Linked DNA regions of Homo sapiens: all the other regions are linked to region 2. The links are contacts of gene promoters, found by promoter capture Hi-C in human tissues and cell types (Jung and others, 2019). All regions are on one chromosome and are shown on one strand. The core of a region is centred on a gene start or on the middle of the fragment in contact, and the rest is flanking DNA. Distances in the headings are between cores, read along the strand shown.

What was found. The method cuts DNA at HindIII sites, captures the fragments that hold promoters and counts their contacts. A contact is called where the count stands out against the background at its distance.
Region 1: a contact is called between a fragment that was not itself captured here and the fragment with the promoter of RPL10L in region 2, in 3 of the 25 tissues and cell types used here (adrenal gland, small bowel and spleen).
Region 3: a contact is called between a fragment that was not itself captured here and the fragment with the promoter of RPL10L in region 2, in 2 of the 25 tissues and cell types used here (dorsolateral prefrontal cortex and liver).

The regions. Positions count from the first base shown.
Region 1 is chr14:46,746,097-46,749,440 of GRCh38, forward strand. No RefSeq gene overlaps it. Among named protein-coding and RNA genes, the nearest start is that of RPL10L, 96 kb to the left of the region's middle. The HindIII fragment of the contact is 3,035 bases long and covers 138-3,172 here.
Region 2 is chr14:46,650,000-46,653,412 of GRCh38, forward strand. It overlaps RPL10L (ribosomal protein L10 like), which reads right to left and starts at 1,782. Exons shown (of 1, transcript NM_080746.3): 1 at 1,011-1,782. The coding sequence starts at 1,737. The coding sequence ends at 1,093. All of the region lies in intron 3 of LOC105370481 (a long non-coding RNA gene), which reads right to left. The HindIII fragment of the contact is 6,030 bases long and covers 1-3,413 here.
Region 3 is chr14:46,717,943-46,721,576 of GRCh38, forward strand. No RefSeq gene overlaps it. Among named protein-coding and RNA genes, the nearest start is that of RPL10L, 68 kb to the left of the region's middle. The HindIII fragment of the contact is 9,502 bases long and covers 1-3,634 here.

The DNA of each region.
Region 1 (3,344 bases), core at 405-2,904, 96 kb after region 2:
TTATCTCTAAGTATTTCAAACTTTTTAAATCTATTGCAAATGATAGTGTTTATTTAATTTAAATTTTTGATAATTGACTGCTTGTAGATTTTAAAGTGCGATTAAAAACACAAACATTTATTATCTTACAAATTTCTGAGGGCTAAGAATCCGGACGCAGTTTAGCTGTGTGATTTTCATTCAGAATGTTTCATGAGTTTGCTGTCAAAATGTTGACCAAACTCACATACTCTCAAGGCTTGACTGGGGCAGGAGAATATACATTCAAGCTCATTCAGCTCCTTTCAAGCACTGGAAAAAAAGCCTTAGTTCCTTGCCACTGGGGCCTCTCCATAGAGCAGCTCATAATATGGGGGGACTCTGTTGGCTCTCAGAGACCCTGGAGACATTTCCTGGTCTCCTGAGCTCTGTCTCTGGAAGAGGGTGAAGTTTAAGATGACAGATCTCGGGATGAATCCCAGAGGTCTGTGCCATGAATATTGAGTACGAGCACATGGTTCAGAGTGCCTACACCACCCTCTGATCATTTGTAAGTCTCTTTTCTCTCTGTTTTATTTTGGATACTTTTATTGTTATGTCTTCAATTTCACTAATCTTTTCTTCTGCAAGGTTAATATGTTGTTGATTCCATCCAAAGTATTTTTCCTATTGGATGTTGCAGGTTTTTTATCTCTAAAGTTTGACTTGAGTCATTTTTATATTTTTTGTGTCTCAGCTAACTTATTCAAATAGCTTATTGAGCATGGAATACAACTATAAAGCTGATTCACTGTCCTTGTTTACTGATTCTGTCGTCTGGGTCATTACTGGGTCAGCTTCAACTTATTGAGTTTTTCTCCTCATTCTGGGCCATATTTTACTACTTCCTTCATGCATGATAATATTTTTATTGGACGTCAGACATTGTGGGTTTTATCTTGGTGGGTGCTGAAGAAACCTCCACTTTAGAACGTTTCACAAAGGCAATAGTGATACTGTCACACAATAAGTGGTGAAATCTGTATTTGAATTATCAAGTCTGCATCCAGAACTTGTGACCTATAACATTCCTTGCCATGTCTGTTTTTCCTTCTTGTATCTACTTGGCCTTTGGACCTGGCTATTAACAGCCATTACTGGCCTGTTCCTTTCTGCGCGCCAGAGTCTCTGTGTCATTAAATAATGACTCTCTCTGAAACTAGAACACTGACATTCCTTTTATTTGAAATAACCTCAGATTCTAAACCTTGCACTTGTCTAGATCTTTTAAAAATGTATACACTTCCCTGGATTTGTCACTCCTTCAGAATGCCTTGCATGTCAAGTACAATGATGTTAAGTAGAACATATGCTCAGCATGGACAAAAGCAGCTTTTGTTTTGGAAGCATTAATCTGAAGCTTGAAAAAAGAAAGAAATTCTGTAAGGATGTGACAAAGTGTAGGCACATAACATTTTGGCACCAAGAACATTTGGATGTAGTTGCTTTGAACTGGAGCTTTTTTGTCTCTGCCTTGGAAAAAAAGGAATAGATGAAAATTAAACATGCTAACGGTCAGATACACGAAACAATGGGGGTGTGCATGGGTTGAGCGGTAGAGGATTTTAGGGAAATATAATTTAAAAACAAAATCTTCTCAAAATCTGCCCCCCAACAAAAGGAAACCTTGATATGGTTTGAATATTTGTCCCCTCAAAATCTCATATTGAAATGTGATCCTCAGTATTGGAGGTGAGGCCTGGTGGGAGGTGTTTGAGTCATGGGGGTAGATCCCTCATTGATGGCTTAGCACCATCCTTTTGGTGATAAATGAGTTCTTGCTCTATTGCTTCACACAAGAGCTGGTAGTTAAAAAACAGCATGGCCTCTCCTCTCTCTCTTGCTCCCTCTCTTGTCATGTGAGATGCCTGCTCCTCCTTTACCTTCTGCCATGTGTCAAAGCTTTGTGAAGCCTCACCAGAAACCAAGCAGATGCTGGTGCCATGCTTGTACAGCCTGTAGAAACATAAGCCAAATAAACCTCTTTTCTTTATAAATTACCCAGTCTCAAGTGTTCCTTTATAACAATGCAAAACAAACTAACACACCTCTCCAAAAAGCTAACAGAGACAGAAAATAGTTTTATTATTAAATAAGCATTAAATCAGAATTTCATATACATCACAGGCAATCCACCAAGAAATTGTGAAGACAGAAAGAAATCTTACCCTTTTACATAGCTGAGCAGGTACAACCCATTTTGTACATGTTCTCAAGATTAACAGTAACTAATCCTCAAGTAAGAGGACTTGACACTTTTGTTACACACAATATATCCTAAATTCACTTGGTAGTTGGGGTAACTATGTGTGTTAGCTAGTTGTCTCTCACCAAAGGAAAAATTAACTTCTTACATTTTTATTACAAGAGATAGTTCTGCAACTTGGAACAAGATCCTAAGTTAGATCCCACCCTCCCACAAAAATGGAGAGAGAAGGATGCTATCTTCTTTGATGTTTTACATGTCAAAGAAACTCAGGTTTTGAGAAAGACTTCCCTGGTTTATAAAGTTGACAAAAGTCCTACATAGTTTTCAAAAAGATTTATATAAGTGTCAAAGAGAGGAGAAAATACTTATAATTGTAAGTTTCCTAAAGTGAATGGTGTAAGAAAAAGGGTGGGAGGGGAAATCTTTCCTCGTTTTCAACTGAGAGAATTTAGTTTTTTAAAAAAAGGTTTTTATTTTTCCTTAGAAGTGCAAACTTAAATCTCATTCTCAAAGTGTGAGCTCCACACCAGCAACATCAGGATGACTTTGATATTTTGTTAGAAATGCAGAATTTCAGTCCTCACTTCATGCCTACTGAATAAGAAACTGCATTTTTAAAAACATCCCTCATTAATTCCAATGCCCATTAATCTTTAAAAATCACAGTTTTACAGGAGTAAAAAGAGGAGTTCCAGATCTTCATCCATACTTTATTTTGGCCACAGATGGTTTCAGGTTTCAAATAGCTAGCATATCAGGTTATTATTAATTAATTAATGACCCCAGGTGCTGAAGCCAACATATGAAAACTCAAATCCCAGATAAGTGCACCGGAGTCAATGACTTCAGCCTGAACGACTCTATATCTCATCACATTTGGTCTAACACCTTCACAATCCACTCCCACACATGCTTCCAAGGTTTCTATATAAATAGATTGGCAAGATTTTCTAACTCTGTTGGAGTATGAGTTATTTCCTTCTTAAGTAGATTTTGAATCTTACTATGCTATCTATGTTTATTCTTATATTATGAGACAGAAGACAACTTCCAATGGTGAGTTTAAGTCTCTTTATATGGCAAATGACATAGGTGCAGTAATTTAAAGGTTTATACA
Region 2 (3,413 bases), core at 532-3,031:
GGAAATATCTTATAGCAAGGGCCTAAAATAAATATCCAGCCAGATACAATATGTTAAGACTGACATAGCATTTCTTTAAATAAATGAAAATTAAATAGTAGTGTTTCTTACTATTTCTTTTGTTGTTTTCATTAAATGTGTTGACTTTGAAAAAGAACCGTTAGTCTAAAAACACTGAAGGCACTGTTAGCAGGATTGAGATTCAAAAGGCTAAGTCAATTGTAAAGAACAAGAATTTTTTTTAATGCAGTACAAACTCAGGAATTTTAGCTTATGTAGTTTCAAAAATAAAACAAAAAGCACCTGTGTCATCAACGTAACTCTAATTCAGGGCAAGCACCTACAATTGCAAACTCTCTTTAGGGTCCTTTTATAGCACAGATAACCGATTTAGTGTCATTTTCTCTCTTCTTTTGGTTCTACTGGAGCCCAGATACAAGTAATATGAACTCTGTTGTCACCTATGACCTTTCTATGATGAAAAAAAGATTAGACTGTTATCTCTTGACTGTGAGACAATGTAAAGTTCGTCTGGAAAAGCCTTTCAGAGTGATACTCAATTGTCCTAAGGCTGATAATCAGACGTGTAAGGTAATTCTAAAAACAATGTACAGAAATTTATAGAAAAACATAAGGCAACCAAGTTTAGAAATAAATTACTTCCAAAGAGGCTGTGGGTGAAATATCACTAATGCCTACTATTATTTTCATCGCTACTGTTTAGTTTATATTCTATAAACAAATTTTTTCACTCAAATCTATTTTTTATTCAAGGAATGATAGCTGCATAACTTATGACTTTACTACAAACAAAACTTTCAACATATTGCTCTATACTCTCCTAAATTTAAAGTGTTTGCTTAAAACAGCTTTCTCTATAAATTGTATAGTTTTACTGAAGCAAGGAAGGTAACATTTGCCATTAAAACTGAATAAATAGAAAAAAATTCTCTAGTAGTCTATATTCTAAAACATTGGATATTTAAAAAATATTAAAACTTAATAAGGAGTTATTTTTTGCCAGTAAACAGAATTTATTAGTAAGCATAAGTCAGACCAGCATGGCCCAAGGAGACAGTACTGCCAAAACCTTCATGAGTGCAGAACCCGCCACTTGTCCAAGGGGCCATGACTGGGAACGTACTTGACTCCACAACCATCAGGGATGAGGCACTTCTTGGCCACCATGTCTTCAAATTCGTCAGCATTAAACTTCGTGAAGCCCCACTTCTTGGAGATATGAATCTTCTGGCGTCCAGGGAACTTGAACTTGGCCCTGCGCAAGGCTTCAATCACATGCTCCTCGTTCTGAAGCTTGGTGCGGATGGACATGATGACTTGACCAATGTGGACCCGGGCTACAGTACCCTGGGGTTTTCCAAAGGCACCTCGCATACCTGTCTGGAGCCTGTCAGCCCCAGCACAGGACAACATCTTGTTGATGCGGATGACATGGAAGGGATGGAGCCGCACTCGCATGTGAAAGCCATCTCTGCCACAACTTTTCACCATGTATTTGTTGGCACAAATACGGGCGGCCTCCAGGGCTTCAGAAGACAGCTGCTCATATTCATCAGACACCATGTGGCCACCGAGTGGGAACTCATCCACTTTTGCCTTCTTTCTACCCAGGTCAAAGATGCGGATCTTGGCATCAGGAACCCCTCGGCAGAAACGAGATTTTGGGTACGGCTTGTTCTTACAATACCGGTAACAGCGAGCTGGACGGCGCCCCATGGCGACACAGTAACGTCGGCGGTGCCTCGAAGTCAAAATGCGCTCTCTTAACTACGCCTGCGCGCATTTATATACGTTGCCCCTCGTCCCTCGCGGGAACCATAGAGTCCTGAGGCCGGAACCATAGAGTCCTGAGGAGGATGTGACGACTCTCTTTCAGGACGTCCCAACCAGAGACGCAGGGACGTCTGGCGCCTCAGCGCCTGCGCCAAGTGGCGCGCTTAAGGTGAGCAGAGTCAGCTGTGGGTAGACTCCCCCTGGCGGCCAGGGAAGGAATTGGGCCCCGCCCCAACTGCACAGCTGCTGCTTCCTTTCTGCTAGCCATCTTGGGCTAGGAACTCTTGCTTTCAGCTTTGCTTTAAGTATAAAAGAGGTTATTTCCAGGCAGGAGAATCTCTTGAGCTCAGGAGTTCGAGGCCAGCCTGGGCAATATAGTGAAATGCTGTCTCTACAAAAAAAAAAATATATATATATCAAATAGCTGGGCATGGTGGCACATGCTTGTAGTCCCAGCTACTCAGGAGGCTGAGGTGGGAGGATCGCCTGGGCCCTGCAGGCAGAAACTGCAGTGAGCTGAGATAGCACCACTGCACTCCAGCTTGAGTGACAGAGGGAGACCCTGTCTAAAGAAAAAGAAAAAAAGAAATCCTAGAATTTGAGAGGAAAAATCCTTCCAGTTATTCAACATGCTGTTTCCAGTTTGGTCAGTTCATTTTCCAGAGCTTGTATCTCACTGTCAGCATTTGTAGATCAATTGCTGTTTCTTGGGTTATGTGGCCACCTTCCCTGGATAAAGTGGTTTCTTGGCATGAGTGCTTTGATGAGACTCAGGAAGAGATGAGAGGAAGAGAAGAGAGAGGGATAAAGAGAAGATATCTGTTGTATCTGTAGCTTGGCAATTGTTTTATAAACATGAAACTTTGTTTTTTCTTTATTTGGCCTAAAGAAATGATTTTATTATCAAAATGATATATACAAAATTGAAACACCAACTAGATTTTTTTTAACTTAAGGCTATTTGCATTTTCAAATGTTAAAGCTGCTGAAACTATATAAAAGAGTAACAGTTTGTGTTTTAGTAATCTTTTGCCCCTGAGAATAAATTTAAACTTTTTTTCTTCTCAGAGTTTGTAAAAATATTATGACAGGGATCAGAGTGTAGGAAAGGAGGAAGAAGAGAGAGGAAAAGAAATTAATAGTTTACAAACCCTACTTGCATTTTTCTAGTTTTCTTTTTTGTTTTAATGTTGTTTCACAAATCCATTACATCATGGAACAAAATCCCCCCAATGTGAATATATTCTGTCAATACTCTTTGTTTTAAGGGAGAAAAATAACTCCTGCCCTTAAAGTGAGTGGATTTTTACAAAATACTAAAGATAAAACAATTAAATCTCCCAATGTAGAAAACTTTCTGACCTTTAAGAAAGCTTTCTCACTTCCCTTTTCTTCCTTCATTTCTTCTTTCCCCTTTTTCTCAACTAGTTCCTGTTTAACATATTGAGATAAAGTAGCTAATACCATGTTGCTCTCACCAAGCTTACAAGCCTAGGAGAGGATATAGATACTTCTCATATATCATCATATTACCAAGTGTAAAATGTGCCAAAAAGGAAAAGCAAAGTAAGCCCTGAGACTGTGGGATGAGGCTGGGGATGAGACCTTGATCCAGACTG
Region 3 (3,634 bases), core at 359-2,858, 68 kb after region 2:
GTGTGTCAGGGGAAAGAGATAATTTATCTCCTACTTAATAAGTCATTAGACCTTACAGAAGTACATCTTGACTGCATGACCTCTTACGAAGAATGGCATGTCATATTTTGGAATTTTTCTCAATGCTCTGACTAGATGGGGCTTCGTATTGTTTTACTTGGGAAAGAAGTGAGTTTTGTGTGAGTACGTGTGGGAGGAGAAATGAATAGGTAATTGGTGACCATAAGGGCAGACTGTGATAGAGAATAGCTTGTTGTTCACCAAACAGGGTTCTTCTTCCTTCTGGGCACAGAGCCATAATCTTTTTCCTATCTTCTCTTGGGGTTCAATGTAGCCCGTATATTAAACTGTGAAGAAAGAAGGTGGGTGTAATTTATAAACGTCATCTCTCCAACCCCTGGGAGAATGGAGAAGACTGTGAAGGTGTAGAGAAAGGCTGTGGTGTTAAATCTTTCAAATGTCACAGCTAACAAATGATAGCACTTCATGTTACTTTAATACATATAAGCACATACACATCCTTTATATTCACATGCAAATAAATGTAGGAAATAGGGGCAAATATCATGGTAATTCAAGTGCTTATCTCTGATATCAGATATTTCTGGACAGAATGCAACTTAATCAGGGACAATTAAGGAAGTTGTAAATCTAATATTAATGACTATCTTTTAAGTGAGCTATATGCTGATCACTAGTTTATTCATTTATTCAACAATAATTAATGAAGACTTACTGCTTTTGCTGTGCTAGCCACTGCAAATGGAGAGGTGAACAACACAGACAAAAGTCCTGCTCTTATGTGGTCCATGTGTTATGTAGGCATCATGATAAAATGAGGTAGGTGCGATAGCCAGAGGCTAAAGAATTTGCTGAAACTCACACAACTTACAAATGGTTAAACCCATACCCCTTTGGCTTTAAAGCTTTTAGTAATTTCATATATTTGAACATTTCAAATTAAAGTAAGTGTTGGATTGTACTTGCCTAAAAATTGCCTCATGTATTTTTTGGATGTAATTATGTGGTCCATTGCATAGCTCCAGTCTTTAACATTACTACACTGTAATGTTTGATACAAATCTTTCCTGTGAGAACTTGATACATTTAAGTCACAGAGTATATCTCAGGCTATAATAATCTTCTAAGAATGTGATTTTACTTATGTATCATCAACACAATTTCATATATTACATCTAAGTGGTTTTGAATTATCCAGATAATTCTTTCATTTTTTCCTTCCTGCTTAACATATGGTCAAGTTGGGAACCAATTGCTAAGTTAAAGCGGGAGCAGGCATAAACATAAACATATGAAAATCACTGGTAAATCTTTGCCATTCACTGTATATAGATTATCTACTTTGAAATTAATTTCACATATCACTATAAAATCTTGTGTGAATATTTTCTCATACAGTAAGGAAATGGTTGAATATAACATGTAGCAAAATGTGAACTATAAATTAGAAAATAAAATCTTGATCGATTTTCCAGTGTAATCTAATTGCGAATATGAGCAAATTAAAGGAATTTTATAGACTTTGGCTCCATAATAGACTGTTAGTGAATGGAGCTTCCTCTTGACTTTCAGTTCCTTGTGTAAAGCTATTAGATTTCATATCTCGTCTCAGATTTGACAAATGGTGCACTGAATGAAGCACTCAGACTACAAATGAGAAGTTATTACTCCAGGAGGAATTTGATGAGCTTAAAGAAAATTCACACGTCCCTTTTTGTCTGTATATCCAGAGAAACTAATTAGTGAAAAGGTTTCCGGAATTACAATAATCTGTTAATGTAGTTATTTTAAATATAAAACCTTGGTGATTTTAGTTTCGGTTTGTTTGCAATTATTTTTCAATTAACACATAAGAATGATGAACTCTAGAGTTTCACCATTGCTCATATTTTGCTTATTCACTACTGCAAAATGAAAATATTTTGGATAAAATGTTCTTAAAAAATAAAGCAAAGAAAATGCTGCCTAAAAACATTTATATAATTTCTGATATTTTAAAATCTTGGTTTCTGTTTAATTGTTACATAAGCAAAATTATATAACAAATAACATGTGTATAGTATAGGACACCTTGATTATTGTGTGTTTTATTAATCCATGGAAGAAATACTTTTTAAAGGTATTATTTTGGAACAATATTCAATGAAATATGTTTAAAGTTAATTATCGTTCCATTCTGTATTGGTTTTCTCTTGCTCTTGTAAAAAATTATCACAAATTTAATGGCTTAAAACAACACAGATTTCTTATTTAACAGTTCTGAATGTCAGCTGTTTAAAATGGGTCACAGGGATGCTTTCCTTCTGGAATGGGAAAATCTGTTTCCTTGCCTTTTCCAGCTATTAGAGGCTGCCAGCATTCCTTGGTTCATGGCCCTGAATAAGTCTGGCCTTTGCTTCCATTGTCACATTTCCTTTTCTCTTTCATGATTACACTGTCCCTACCCAGATAATCCAGAATAATCCCCCCATCTCAAGATGCTTAAGTTAATTGCATTTGTGAAGTCCCTTTTGCAATGTAAAGCAACATGTTCATGGGTTTCAGGATCAGGACATGCACATATCTGAGTGACACTGCACAGCCTACGACACCTTTGATTTGTGATATTCATTGACCACTAATTTATTTATATGCACTTACATTGTAGGTGACACAAAATTGAAAAGGAACTGGATTTTATATTAAGAAGTTTATGGAAGAGAAAAGAGAGACAGTGAAGACACTGATAAATATTACTATGGGTTCAGGAAATATGTTATGGAAACTCAAAAGAGGAATTACCTTGTACTTTTCAGTTCACAACCAGAGTATTTACACCTTATCTCTCGGAATCATATTAAGGTATAGAGTGCAGCATGTTCAGATAAAAGAAAGAATTGTTATAGAAATAGAAAAAAGTCAAGGAAGGCAAAATGAAAAGAACTAGGAATATTTAACTCAGAAAATAGGCTATGAAAATGAGTGGATGAAGAAAATATTTGATACGTGTATGAATATTATTTAGCCTTAAAAAAATGAAATCCTGCCATTTGCAACAACACAGATGAACTTGAAGGACGTTATACTAAATGAACTCAGCCAGACACAGAAAGACAAATACTGCATGATCTGTCTTACTGACATGTGGAATCTAAAATAGTCAAACCCATAGAACAGAGAGTAGAATGGTGGTTGCCAGGGTTTGGGGGTATGGAAGGAAATTAGGAGATGTTGATCAAAGGACATAAAGTTTCATTTATGCAAGATTAATCAATTCTGAAGTTCTAATGTGTAGCATAGCATAGTGACTATAGTTAGTAATACTGTATTGTGTACTTGAAATTTGCTAATAGGGTCAATCTTAAGTGTAAGCGTTCTCACCAAAATAATTTTTCTAAAGCTAACTATGAAAGTGATGGAAATTTAACTAGCTTGATTGTGGTGATCATTTCACAATGTATGCATATATCAAAGCATCAAGCTGTATACCTTAAATATATATAATTTATATATATTATATAATATGAATATATAAAAATTATATATAAATCTGTTATATATATCAAGCTGTATACCTTAAATATATATATTTTAAATATACTTTTTAAAATATATATTTTTAAGGTATATTTAA